5 separate regions of the Homo sapiens genome follow, and all the other regions are linked to region 2. The links are contacts of gene promoters, found by promoter capture Hi-C in blood cells and fetal thymus (Javierre and others, 2016). All regions are on one chromosome and are shown on one strand. The core of a region is centred on a gene start or on the middle of the fragment in contact, and the rest is flanking DNA. Distances in the headings are between cores, read along the strand shown. Region 1 has its middle 54 kb from the start of ERMP1. Region 2 holds the start of INSL6 (insulin like 6). Region 3 overlaps RIC1 (RIC1 partner of RAB6A GEF complex). Region 4 holds the start of ERMP1 (endoplasmic reticulum metallopeptidase 1). Region 5 overlaps ERMP1 (endoplasmic reticulum metallopeptidase 1).

Region 1 (2,700 bases), core at 53-2,552, 590 kb before region 2:
GGTTAGAACATACACTCCTTTAGCTTGGAGGAGTTTGTTATTACCCACCTTCTGAAGCTTACTTCTGTCAATTTGTCAAACTCATTCTCTGTCCAGTTCTGTTCCCTTGCTGGCAAGGAGTTGTGATCCTTTGGAGGAGAAGAGGTGATCTGCTTTTTGGAATTTTCAGCCTTTTTTTGCTGTTTTTTCCTCATCTTCGTGGATTTATCTACCTTTGAAGTTGGTGACCTTCAGCTGGGTTCTCTTGAGTGGACGTCCTTTTTGTTGATGTTGATAGTATTCCTTTCTGTTTGGTGGTTTTCCTTCTTAACATTCAGGCCCTCTGCTGCAGGTTGGCTGGAGTTGACTTGAGGTCCAGTCCAGACCCTGTTTGCCTGGGTATCACTGGTGAAGGCTGCAGAACAGCAAAGATTGCTGCCTGTTCCTTCCTCTGGAAGCTTCGTCCTACAGGGGTACCCGCCAGATGCCAGCTAGAGCTCTCCTGTATGAGGTGTCTGTTGGCACCTACTGGGAGGACCCACTTGAGGAGTTAATCTGTCCTTTATCAGAGCTCCAATGCTGTGCTGGGAGATCTGCTGCTCTCTTCAGAGCTGCCAGGCAGGGACGTTTAAGTAAGTCTGCTGAAGCTGCGCCCACAACTGCCCTTTGTCCAAAGTGCTCTGTCCCAGGGAGGTGGGGGTTTTATCTGTTAGTCCCTGACTGGGGCTGCTGCCTTTTTTTCAGAGTTGCCCTGCCCAGAGAGGAGGGAATCTAGAGAGGCAGTCTGGCTGCAGTTGCCTTGCTGAACTGCAGTGGGCTCCGCCCATTTTGAACTTCCCAGTGGCTTTGTTTACACTGTGAGGGTAAAACTGCCTACTCAAGCCTCAGCAATGGTGGACGCCCCTCCCCCCATGTTGGAGCATCCCAGGTCAAGCTCAGACTGCTGTGCCAGCAGCAAGAATTTCAAGCCAGTGGATCTTAGCTTGCTGGGCTCTGTGGGGGTGGGACCCACCGAACCAGACCACTTGGCTCCCTGGCTTCAGCCCCCTTTCCAGGGGAGTGAATGGTTCTGACTGGTGTTTCAGGTGCCACTGGGGTATGAAAAAAAAAAACTGCGGCTAGCTTTGTGTCTGCCCAAAACAGCCATCCAGTTTTGTACTGGAAACCCAGGGCCCTGGTGGCGTGGGCACTGGAGGGAATCTCCTGGTCTGCGGGTTGCAAAGACTGTGGGAAAAGCACAGTATCTGGGCTGGATTGCAAGATACAGTCCCTAACAGTCCCTAATGGCTTCCCTTGGCTGGGAGAAGGAGTTCCCCGACCCCTTGCGCTTCCCAGGTGAGGCAACGAACTACCCTGGCTTTGGCTTACCCTCACAGGGCTGCACCCACTGTCCAACCAGTCCCAGTGAGATGAACCAGGTACCTCAGCTGGAAATGCAGAAATCACCCGCCTTCTGTGTCGATCTCGCTGGGAGCTGCAGACCAGAGCTGTTCCTATTCAGCCATCTTGCCAGCAATCCCAGTTATGGCTCTTAATGTCTGTTTTTAGTTTAAATACGTAGGGATTTTTGGAGTGTATCAGTGTATTTTTTGACACTTCTACTTCCATATTTGACTTGTAAAAACATAACATGTTGGTAATAATTTTTTTTTTCCTCCAGTTTGGCTCTACAGCATGACCAAATGGAATTTATGCCAGGAATGCAAGGTTGGTTTAACAGAAAGTTGGCCAGGTGCAGTGGCACATGCTTAATTTCAGCACTTTGGGAGGCCAAGGTGGGTGGATTGCTTAAGCCCAGGAGTTTGAGACTGGCCTGGACAACATGGCAAAACCCTGACTCTACTAAAAACACAACATTTAGCAGGGCATGGTGGTGTGTGCCTGTGGGCCCAGCTACTATAGAAACTGAGGTAGGAGGATGGCTTGAGCTCAGGAGGTTGAGGCTGCAGCAAGCCATGACTGCGCCACTTCCTTCCAGCATGGGTGACAGAGCAAAACTCTGTCTTAAAACAAAAACATTTGAAAATCAGTGTAATGTACCATATTAATAGAATAAAGGATAAAAACCACATGACTACTTCAGTAGATGCAATGTATGTTTGTTGAGTGTTTTTATCATGGAAGGGATTTGGATTTTTGTAAAAGACAAACTATACAGAAGGCAACATCCTCAACCAGATAAAGCTTATCAATAAAAAACCCACAGCTAGCATCATAATTAGTGATGAGAGAAAGCTTCTCCCTAAGATCAGAAGACAAGGATATCCACTATTGCCACCTAATAAGCATTGTACTAGTGGCTCTAGCCAGGACCGTTTGGCAGGAGAAAGAAAGAAAAGGCATCCAGATTGAAAAGGAAGAGTTCAAACTATCTCTGGTTGCAAACAACATGACCTTCAATGTAGAAAATCCTAAGGAATCCACAAAAAAGAAAAAGTTTGATGTTGCATGATGCAATGTCAATATACAGAAGCAATTGTATTTATATACACAATCCAAAAACAGGAAATTCCATTTTTTTTACAGTAGCAATACTTAGAAATAAATCTAACAAAAGTATGAGACTTAGCAAAAATTATAATCCACTGTTAAAAGACATTAAAAACCCAATAAATGGAAAGACATCTCATGTTCATGGACTGGAAGGCTTAATATGGCAATATTCTCCACATTTGCTTTATGTCATGAATACAACGCTTATGAAAATCCCAACTGCCTTTA
Region 2 (2,700 bases), core at 85-2,584:
TAATATTTTCCGTTCTCAAAAACCTTACCTGATAAAGTTCTGACTAGGACTCATGGCCCACTATAGTTTGGACATAAGTTATTTTTTAAGGAAGGTGATTAAATTTTACTAATCTATATTATATCAACCATTTAAAAAATCCAATTGGCAGTTAATTTAACAGCATTCATGGATGCCACTGGGAAGCAGGGAAAAGATAGGGAAACGGAAAATTAAGAAAAAGACATAGAGTCAGAAGACAGAAAAGAAAGGGAGAAAAAAATAAAATTGTATAGGGAAATGGTGAGATCACTGATAAGCTTGCACCTGTGGCTTCAGCATCCTGAACCTTATTCCTGAGACAGCCACCGAATGCCCTCTTGTGGCCGATAGTACATCCTTCCACGCCAACACACTAGTAACACAGAACTTCATTTAAAATGATAAAGCTACCTATGCCGATTGCGCTTCGCTTCCCTGCCCCTTCCCTCCTAACTGAGCAAAATTATCTCACCTAAATGAGCATTTCATGCTGCATGCTGTTATTCTTACAAGGCAAATCCTCTAGGGGTCCCTGTCACAAGTTAATTTGGTAATACACAATCCTCTACATTATCTAACCGAAAGAACCAGATTTCCATCCCAGGTACCTCAAGACAGCGTCCCTACTTCTTTTTTCTGGAGATTGAGGCTAAGGCCCATGCCTCCCTGTGAACCAGTAGGATTTTTCTGAAGAAGCTTTGAACCTGACTAAACGCACATGGCCATATGCAACACTTAAACGTTTCACCACATATTTGATTGCCAGCTAAATGCCAGATCCCGGGGTACGATGGAAAGCAAGAACAGACGCAGGCCCTTGCCTTCATGAAGCGGGGGTCTCAGGAAAGAGGTTACACGCCCACAAATGGAAACAGGTCGATTAACACCGTGAAAGAGATGACAGGGGGTTTCTGTGAGGGAGACGAAGCTTTATTAACAACCTGGCAAACAAGAACGAGAAACGCATTCCAGGTGGAGGGAGCAACACTTTTTAACCTACGTTATCAGGTAACAGGGATCCTATGTTCTCACGCTTGGTGAGGAATCTCCCATTGAGGAAGGAAAGAAAAATGAATCAAACTAGGGGGTGGCGGGGTAGTGAGGGGATTTTTGGCTTTCATTTTAGGAGCCAGGGCCTGCTACCTTCGACCACCTGAGACCCCTGAGCTGGCGGGAAAGCCTTGACGCAGCCGGCGCGCGCCTTCCCTTGAAGTTCTGGCGACGCCCCCACGCGCTCGGAATTCCGCAGTGTTTGTGCGCGCCGCTCGGCCTGGCGCAGGCGCAGACAGGGAGCAGGGTCCGGCCGACCGCCATTGCACAACGCGGAGGACTAGCCTGGGGTCACAGGGATGCCGCGGCTCCTCCGCTTGTCCCTGCTGTGGCTTGGACTCCTGCTGGTTCGGTTTTCTCGTGAACTGAGCGACATCAGCAGTGCCAGGAAGCTGTGCGGCAGGTACTTGGTGAAAGAAATAGAAAAACTCTGCGGCCATGCCAACTGGAGCCAGTTCCGTTTCGAGGAGGAAACCCCTTTCTCACGGTTGATTGCACAGGCCTCGGAGAAGGTCGAAGCCTACAGCCCATACCAGTTCGAAAGCCCGCAAACCGCTTCCCCGGCCCGGGGAAGAGGCACAAACCCAGGTAAAAATCGAAACCGAAGGCATGTTTGTTCACCTCTGTATATTTCTTATTCCTGCATTTGCTCTGCCAGAAGGTGAGCTTCCCCAGGAAGTGGAATTTGTGCCTAGTACACAGCTCTTTAAAAAATTGTAAAAAACAGTGTATTGAAAATATACAAAACTTCAATGAAGCGCTTTTTTTTTTAACTTGGAGGAAATAAATGTACACTTGTAAGTCTACATATTTATGTAAGAATGTTGTTCTTTTCTGGAGTGCCAGTCATCTGGCAAACTCCTTTTTGTCCTTCAAAGCCCAACTTAAGTATCATTTTCCCTGTGAAGTCATCATTGACCTTTTCATGGCCAATGGCTCCATTGTCCTTTCTACCACAGTATCTAGCACATAGTTGTATTTGACTGTCGTCATTGGCTACAGAATCAGCCCAACCTTGTAGAAGATAAAAATGCAGAGTACCTTGTTCAAAAAAGCAGGAAAGGGCCATGAAAATAAAGGTAGTAAAATATAAAACTGTTTTCCTTACTTGTCCATATCCCCTGGTCACGTACCAGGAGATAGGCCTGGTCCGTTCTCCTATCAGGCTTCATTTAAGAGTTTACGTACTTGTATTTCATTCACTTAAAGTTTCAAAGGTAAATTTATTCAGAACAACAAAGGAACATTTAAACCAAATGCAAGGCCTGTGTGACTACATAGGTTTCAGTCCCATAAAGTCAGCCCTATATACCATACTGTATTATAGGGACTATTTCATGCATATTTTTGTCTGAAATGCTTAGCAGATGGCCTAGCACATCGCATGTGTTTAATATGCGCTGAATTTATACTTGATGCTTTCAAGCAGTCTGCAGGAAGGATATTCTTGTTCCAGATTCATTGGTATATCTTACTATGTTTTTACATTTTGTGACTAAGACATTTTAGTCCCAGTATGATTTGTCATTTTAAAAGAAATTGCACTTTGTTTATAGTGTATCCATAGGAAGAAGATTACTGCCTTTTACAGTAATTCAGTTGATTTGATTTGGACAAATCTTGTAAAAG
Region 3 (2,700 bases), core at 106-2,605, 570 kb before region 2:
CTCGATAGGAAGTAAAAGACAGACTGCCCAGACAGGGATGACAAATAAATCCACATAGAATTTTCCTCTGACAGTAGGTTCCCAGTTGACATGAAGTTTAGAAACCACTGAAATAGAAAGTTATGCAACGTGGGTCCTGGTCGCCCTACTTCTTACCCTGTTACTTTACCCAGAAACTACGGGATTATACTTTCTCTTTCCTCATAATTAACTAATTATAAAGCCCTTGCTATTCTATACTCATTCTACTTCTTTCCATATCCTTTTTCACTGCCCAAGTTCAGACTGTGAACACCACTGACCTAGATCATTACAATGACCTCCCAGTTGCTCTCCCTACAGTAGTTTTGTCTTACTTCAGTTCATTTTCCTCCTTACAGTAAACATTATAAAGCTTAGATCTAATAATACCTACCTTAAAACACTTTAGACTTAAAGTCTAAAATTATCAATATTATCTACAAGACTCATATCCTCTTTCACTTTCCATGTCCCAGTCACTCTAAAATTCTTCCAATTCCCTGAGTGTGTCATGTTCTGCCTTGTCTATGGGCCTTTGCACTACTGTTCCTTCCACCTGAAAATCCATCCCCTCTTAACTTGGATAATTTCTACTTATTCTCCTAGTTTTAATTTAAATGATACAGAAATCTCTGACTGTTCAGACTATAACAGGTTTTTGTTAAATGCTCTCACAGTAATGTGTACTACTTTTTGGTACACGTAACAGGAACAATTCATTATGTATGTAATTATTTATTTAATGCCTGAGCAGAAACCATGTCTTTTTAATTTGCCACTGCAACCCAGCATTCTCATATAAGGTACATTTTAGACACTTAGTATTTATTTGCCAAACAAATACTTCCTAATATGGACTCAAATACTAAAAACAGAAATGTAAACTCCAAAGACCTTTGATAATGGAGTGGTACCTGCTGTGGCATTTTCAAGGTGATTCCATTCTCTGTACTCACTGATGTCAGAGTGACAGATACCACCAGGAAAGGGTGAGGAATGTAGCGTGACATGGAAACCTCCTGAAGAACTTGAATACCAGCAGTAGTATTTGGACTGTAAAAACAAAAGAAACCCACATACCTCAACAACAATGCTAATAAGATTTTCTTTCTTTTCCACTAGTAATAGTATTAGATTTCATGCTTATGGAAGACTCAGATGTCTTACTACCTATCATCTTCTCCCCATATATCCTTCGATCAGGAAGTTGGCAAGGTTGAGGGGAACCAGAGTATATGGGGATGAGAGAGAAAGAAAGGGAGTAACAAATAGGAGGGAAGACGAAAACTAGGGAAGAAGCTATAAGAATACAAATATTTAAGTGGAAAAAACTAGTGGGTTGAGAAAGAATGATGGTTCAATCATTGAGGCTAGTGAGATGTCTTAATTTTTATCTTGCATTACTTCTCAATCACTGTGCTGTTTCAGTAAATACATACTTCAATTAACCTCTGAGAACAAAAATAAAACTCAAGAGGTGTGGTCTAAATACGTTGCAAGTAGACCAGATGCCAAGACAAATATAAGGCAACGTGCAGCAGCAACAACACTGCTGATTTTTTACTGCCCCAGACTACAGCCATCTAGCTCAGTGGAAATATAAGTCAGTTTGCTAAGGACATGCTTCCTACAGTCTTAAAGTTGTAGAACTCCTTCAAATTCCCACCAAGTATCGAGAGCACCAGGAGAGTCAGTAACCATTTATTTTCAAGGTTGTGAAAAAAAATTTAGTATCTAAGGGTTTACCTCATCCCAAACTAGATTTTTTTCAAATGACTCCAGGAAGATAAGCTAAAGAAGTTAGTGTACGATATTTCTTTTTTTTTTAGCTATTATATCAATATCACTAATTAAAACTCCTTGCTTTTTTTACCTCTAACAAAAACAAGATTGAATATAAAAGTGGAATAACTGTTTTGAGAAAACAAAAACTACAAAAGAGAAACGTGGTAAATAGGAGCAAAAAGTGACTTCTCATATGCCAGATACTTACCCATCAGATTTTCTTTCAATACTGTAAAGGCATATTGAACAGTCTGCTCTAAATACTATTACCATGTCCTGGAAGACACTAAGCAGTAATGTTTCTGCTTGTGCTTTGGTGACATGAGCAAAGGCATTGTCCAGATTTGATGTTCGCAAGTATACTCTAAGCTGAAGAAAACAAAAATGAAGAAAATTATAAAAACAAGATAACTACTAGGGATGACCAAATACTTTAAACATGCTGTTTTTAACTTCCGACTTTTTTTTTTTTTTTTAGTAACAGGAGTTAAAAGAACTATCTAAGCTTTAACAGTAAATGGATTATGTTTACATATTTTTGCAGACTAGGCTCATTCTATGAGTAAGCAAAAAATGAAGTGATCAAAACTGAATGTACTATTATAAAATATTCCTTTTAGACCTGCTTTATTTATTTATTTATTTATTTATTTATTTAAAGACGGGGTCTCACTCTGTTGCCCAGGCTGGAGTGCAGTGGCATGATCTCGGCTCACTGCACCCTCCGCCTTCCGGGTTCAAGCAATTCTGCCACCTCAGCTTCCCAAGTAGCTGGGATTACAGGGGTGTGCCACCATACCTGGATAATTTTTGCATTTTTAATAGAGATGGGGTTTCACCATGTTGGCCTGGCTGGTCTTGAACTCCTGACCTCAGGTGATCCACCCGCCTTAG
Region 4 (2,700 bases), core at 34-2,533, 650 kb before region 2:
TGAGGAAGTTATGAAATAGTCACATGCAAACATGGTGCTGTGAGATCCTACAAATAGGGGAAGCAAGCTTAATTAAATTAGGAGATTCTTGCTTGAGGAAGTACCACTTAATCTGAGATTTAAAGGATAACTAGGAGTTAAAAAGACAATGAGGAGAGAGAAGAACACTCCAGGTAATTCAAACAGCATGTGAGAAGATCCTATTGTAGAAGGAAAGATGCGTGCAGGAAGTCTTTGAAAGAGGCCAGTGTGGCTGGAGAGCTGGAAATAAGAAGCATCCTGGTGTCAGAGGAGCCTGAGAGGTGGGCAAGAGCAGGACTATAGGGCATTGTATGAAATCTGACATATGTGCTAAGTCAAAATCCGGCAGTGTGCTCTCCCAGTTGGTCTCTAGGTTAATGCTCATGCTAATGTAGCAACTCCAAGCTAGGGACAAAAAACCTTGGAGCAGAGAGGCTCATGGGTACCGGCAAGCTGGAAGAAGACTAGATAATCACTAGGATCTGCACTGAAACCAAGGCTCTGCTGCTTAACCGCCCCAGAGAGTCGTCAAGTGAAGAATGGCCTTTCTGAACCTTCACTTGCAGAGTGCTAATGTAGTAGTGGAACAGAATGCTGTTTTGGGAGCCCATGAAATTAGATTTACATTCTTCATCTGTTATCTCTACGTTTCTCAGGTTATAAAATGGGAACAAAGATATTTCCTTTTAAGTATTGTTAAAGATAATTAAATAAGATGATGTATTAAAGGACTTGACCTAGCGCTTAGCTCATAGCAGGTATTCAATAAATAATAGCCATTATTTTTCTTTATCTGTTAAATGGAGACAGTAATAGCACAGATTAAGTTGCTGAGTTATGAAGATCTGATTAGATTATGCATGTGAAAGCAATAGGCCGGGCCTCCTCTGCGTAATCTTATTTCTAATTTTAAGAGCCAGGAACCCACTTTTTTGGAGCCTGATGTTCTAATATTCCTTCCTTACGAAAGCCAGGTCATTGCTTTTTTCATCTGCCTGATGCACTGTAAGAGCCTTGTGTGTTCTTTCAAAAGCGATCTCTCATTTTTCTCGTTTTGGGTTTTTAGGTGTCTTTACATTTGGCAATCTCCGTCCTACAGAGGGCTGGAAAAGCCCTGCGGGAGACGGCATATCCACCACCCGCTGCTGGGTCGGCCCTGCAGCTGTGTGCACCCGAGAACTGCCAAAGAAGCTGGGTCTTGGCGCGGCGGGACGGGCCAATCAGAAGAAGTTTGGCCCTCTGCAGTTTCCGTCCGCTCACTAGGAGGCGCTGCGGCAGCGACGGCGGCGTCGGCGGCGGCCGGGGCTGTCGCGGGTTGGGGCGGTTGGGCTGGCAGCTGAGGCTCGTGGCCATGGAGTGGGGTTCTGAGTCGGCTGCTGTGAGGCGGCACCGCGTCGGAGTAGAGCGTCGAGAGGGAGCGGCGGCCGCGCCACCGCCGGAGAGGGAGGCCCGAGCGCAGGAGCCTCTGGTGGATGGGTGCAGCGGCGGCGGGAGGACGCGGAAGAGGAGCCCCGGGGGTAGCGGCGGCGCGAGCAGGGGCGCGGGGACCGGGCTGTCTGAGGTGCGCGCCGCGCTGGGGCTCGCGCTCTACCTGATCGCGCTGCGGACGCTGGTGCAGCTCTCGCTGCAGCAGCTCGTGCTACGCGGGGCCGCTGGACACCGCGGGGAGTTCGACGCGCTCCAAGCCAGGTACCGGCCGCTCCCTCCTGGCACGGCCCGCGCGTCCGTTTGCGGCTCCTGCGCAGGCTCCGGGGCACCGCACCTGTGTGCACCCGCCCCTGCCGGACCGCTGGGACTCGCTGACCCCTCCCAGGCTGCACGTGGGGTGGGGTGACCTTGCTTGTCCTTCTTCTGGGGTCTGAATTGCCGGGACTTGGGGCTTGCCTGTCCCCGGTTAAGCTCGTGGTGCAGATTGGGGTTGCCAGGTAGATTGAACCTGCTTTCCACTGTCTGCCCTTCGTGCAGATGGTTGGTTGTGAGTCGTCTCCCCATATTCTGGAACAGCTTCCCCTTTTTACCTTGCTTAGCCCTTCTGCTTTCCAGATGGAAATTTGTGTACCTAGACTGTTGTATAAATTCGCTTTGGGGGCGGGGAGTTTTGGAAGGCGCTAGTGCACTGTTCTAACTTTCTGAGGGTTACAGCCCCCACATCTGAAGGCTATAGAAACTCTTTCTGGAACACCGCCCAGTCAAAATTTGGTATGCAGTCTGATAAATTCTCAGATCCCTGCAGTTTATCTTTAGGCCCCTTGGATTAGTGACTGTGTAAGGTTTGACTTTTTTTTTTTTTTTTAAGACCTTTAAGAATGCTAGGAAAGGTGATTAAGTCAAAGATATTGTAACCCAGGTGTGTCAAAGCTCATGAAGTGTTAAGCTGGCGTCAAGTTTTCAACAGCTACTGTGTTCTAAAAAGTTTTTGCTAGAATGCAAAGTGTTGCAAGCTTATTAAGGACTTTCTGAAACGTCTCCCACCCCCACTTCCAGCTTTCCCCACTTGGAATGCAGTGAAAAGACAAAAACAGTTTTGTTTTCATTAGGGGTACAGTTGGTTTTGGCCTGAATTGAAGTTATTAGACCTTGGGTGTATGCTAGGAGGGCTAGGTCCATCAAAAGTTTCCCCCGCCCGCCTTATTTAACCTCTTGACTTGATTATTTTTGCTCATTGGTTTCTGCTACTTA
Region 5 (2,700 bases), core at 10-2,509, 610 kb before region 2:
TCCTCATTTCCGACTCATATCCAAAGAACAGACACCTTGGGATTCTATAAAATTGACTTTTGAAGCAACAGGTAAGTCATATAATAGTTTTTTCTCCCCTCCTTTATTTCTTAAACTTGTTAATAAGTGGCATGTATGTTTTTCCCTCAGATATATCACAGGAACCAGCAACTTAGGAAGAGCCTGTGATGTTTCTAAAATCAATTGAAGCTGGTTATGACTTCTTTTTTTTTTTTTTTTGAGATGGAGTCTCGCTCTGTCGCCCAGGCTAGAGTGCAGTGGTACGATCTCGGCTCACTGCAACCTCCGCCTCCTGGGTTCAAGTGATTCTCCTGCCTCAGCCTCCTGAGTATTTGGGATTACAGGTGTGTGCCACCATGCCTGGCTAATTTTTGTATTTTTAGTAGAGACAGGGTTTCACCATGTTGGTCAGGCTGGTCTTGAACTCCTGACCTCATGGTCTGCCTGCCTCGGCCTCCCAAAGTGCTGGGATTACAGGTATGAGCCACCACGCCCGGCCAAAGCTGGTTATGACTTCTTAACAAAAATTTAATAGGCCAGGCATGGTGGCTTATGCTTGCTACTCAGGAGGCTGAGGTAGGAGGATTGCTTGAGCCCAGGAGTTCAAGACCAGCCAGGGCAACATAGTGACATCCCGTCTCTACAAAATTAAAAAAAAAAAAATTAGCTGGGCATGTTGGTGCATGCCTGTAGTCTTAGCTACTTGAGAACTTGAGAGGCTGAGCTGGGAGAATCACTTGAGCCCAGGAGGTCAAGGCTGATAGCACCACTGCATTCCAACCTGGGTGACAGAGCAAGACCCTGTCTCAAAAATAAAAATTATTTTTATTTTTTGGAGCAATGTTAAGTTTACAGAAAAATTAAGTAGAAATTATAGAGTTCTCATATCCTGCCCCCCGATTTTCCTCTATTAATGTCTTGCATTAGTATGGTGCATTTGTTAAAACTGATGCACCAGTTTTAACACTGATATATTATTATTAATCGAAGCCTGTTGTTCCCACTCGGGTTCATTCTTCGTGTTGTGTAGTTCTATGGGTATTGAAAAATGTGTGATGCCATGTATCTACCATTACAGTATCATACAGAATAGATTTACCATCTAGAAATGCCCTGTGCTTCACCTATTTATCTCTCTTTTCTTCCCACTCTCCTTAGCAACCATTGGTCTTTTTATTATCTCTGTAGCTTTGCCTTTTCCAGGTATCATATAGCTGGAAGCACAGAGTATGTAGCCTTTTTCGACTGACTTCTTTCACTTAGAAGTATGCATTTAAGGGATCCTCCATATCTTTTTGTGACTTGATAGGCCATTTCTTTTTATTGCTGAATAGTCCGTTGTGTAGATGTACAGCAGTTATCCATATTTGAATAAGGCTGCTATAAAGATTCCTGGGCAGGTTTTTGAACTCATTTGGGTAAATGCTTAGGAGTGTGATTGCTGGATATTATATATGGTAAGCCTATGTTTAGCTTTGTAAGAAACTGCCAAACTGTTCTTTCCATTGACTGATTTCTCTGTTCTTTTGCCCATACCACAACTGTCATGATCACTGTAATTATATAGTTAAGTTTTGAAGTTGGGTAGTATCAGTCTTCCAACTCTTCTTCTCCAGAATTGTGTTTTGTCTTTTGCCTTTCCATGTAAACTTTAGAATCAGTTTGTCAATATTCACAAAATAACTTGTTGGAGTTCTGATTGGGATTGTATTGAGTCTGTAGATCAAGGTGGGAAGAAATGATATTTTAACAATAATGGCTTTTCCTATCCGTGTTGGAATATCCCTCCATTTATTTTTATCTTGTTTGATTTCTTTCATCAGTTCTGTAGTTTTCCTTATAGAATCCTTATATATATTTTGTTAGATTTATTTTTAAGTAGTTATTTTTGGGGGTGCTAATGTATTAATAAATGGTATTGTTCATTGATGGTCTACAGGAAAGCAACTGAGTTTCAGATTATTACCCTCATATCCTGCAGCCTTGCTATAATCACTTATTAGATCTAGGAGATTTGTTTTTGTTTTTGTTTTTGTTTTTGTTTGGTTTATTCTTTAAGAAGATTTTCTTTTCTTTTTCTTTTTCTTTTTTGAGACAGTCTCACTCTGTCACCTAGGCTGGAGTGCAGTGGTACGATCTCGGCTCACGGCAACCTCTGCCTCCTGGGTTCAAGTGATTCTCCCGCCTCAGCCTCCCAAGTAGCTGGGAATACAGGCACCCGCCACCACACCTGGCTAATTTTTGTAATTTTAGTAGAGACAGGGTTTCACCACGTTGGCCAGGCTGGTCTCAAACTCCTGACCTTGTGATCCGCCTGCCTCAGCCTCTCAAAGTGCTGGGATTACAGGCGTGAGCCACCGCGCCCAGCCTATTCTTTTAAGATTCTATGAATAGACAATCTTATCATCTGCAGACAGTTTTATTTCCTCCTTCCTAATATCTATAATTTTTATTTCCACTTCTTGACTTGTTACATTATCTGGGACTTCTAGTTTGATTTTGACAAGGCGTTGTGAGAGGGGACATCTTTGCCTTGTTCCTGATCTAGGCAAGCTTCTGGTTTCTTACCACTGAGTATGTTGTTAGCTATACGTTTTTTGGTAGATGTTTTTTATGAGACTGAGGAAGTTCCCTCTATTCCTAGCTTACTGAGAGTTTTTATCATGAATAGGTCTTGGA

The links. The method cuts DNA at HindIII sites, captures the fragments that hold promoters and counts their contacts. A CHiCAGO score of 5 or more calls a contact.
Region 1: a fragment that was not itself captured here is called in contact with the fragment with the promoter of INSL6 in region 2 in 1 of 17 cell types (naive B cells); the score reaches 5.5 in naive B cells.
Region 3: a fragment that was not itself captured here is called in contact with the fragment with the promoter of INSL6 in region 2 in 1 of 17 cell types (naive B cells); the score reaches 6.7 in naive B cells.
Region 4: the fragment with the promoter of ERMP1 here is called in contact with the fragment with the promoter of INSL6 in region 2 in 2 of 17 cell types (naive B cells and total B cells); the score reaches 7.8 in naive B cells.
Region 5: a contact is called between a fragment that was not itself captured here and the fragment with the promoter of INSL6 in region 2, in 1 of 17 cell types (naive B cells). The highest score is 5.6, in naive B cells.

Annotation. Positions count from the first base shown.
Region 1 is chr9:5,777,995-5,780,694 of GRCh38, reverse strand. It overlaps a transcript of RIC1 not described here. Among named protein-coding and RNA genes, the nearest start is that of ERMP1, 54 kb to the left of the region's middle. The HindIII fragment of the contact is 1,726 bases long and covers 440-2,165 here.
Region 2 is chr9:5,184,273-5,186,972 of GRCh38, reverse strand. INSL6 (insulin like 6) reads left to right here and starts at 1,334. Exons shown (of 2, transcript NM_007179.3): 1 at 1,334-1,659. The coding sequence starts at 1,371. The HindIII fragment of the contact is 2,408 bases long and covers 952-2,700 here.
Region 3 is chr9:5,755,687-5,758,386 of GRCh38, reverse strand. It overlaps RIC1 (RIC1 partner of RAB6A GEF complex), which reads right to left. Exons shown (of 26, transcript NM_020829.4): 16 at 2,015-2,175; 17 at 936-1,074. Among named protein-coding and RNA genes, the nearest start is that of ERMP1, 76 kb to the left of the region's middle. The HindIII fragment of the contact is 1,917 bases long and covers 397-2,313 here.
Region 4 is chr9:5,831,700-5,834,399 of GRCh38, reverse strand. It overlaps ERMP1 (endoplasmic reticulum metallopeptidase 1), which reads left to right and starts at 1,283. Exons shown (of 15, transcript NM_024896.3): 1 at 1,283-1,710. The coding sequence starts at 1,373. RefSeq lists silencers at 1,197-1,416, 1,497-1,716. The HindIII fragment of the contact is 2,395 bases long and covers 70-2,464 here.
Region 5 is chr9:5,795,188-5,797,887 of GRCh38, reverse strand. ERMP1 (endoplasmic reticulum metallopeptidase 1) reads left to right here. Exons shown (of 15, transcript NM_024896.3): 13 at 1-71. Among named protein-coding and RNA genes, the nearest start is that of ERMP1, 37 kb to the left of the region's middle. The HindIII fragment of the contact is 2,635 bases long and covers 1-2,576 here.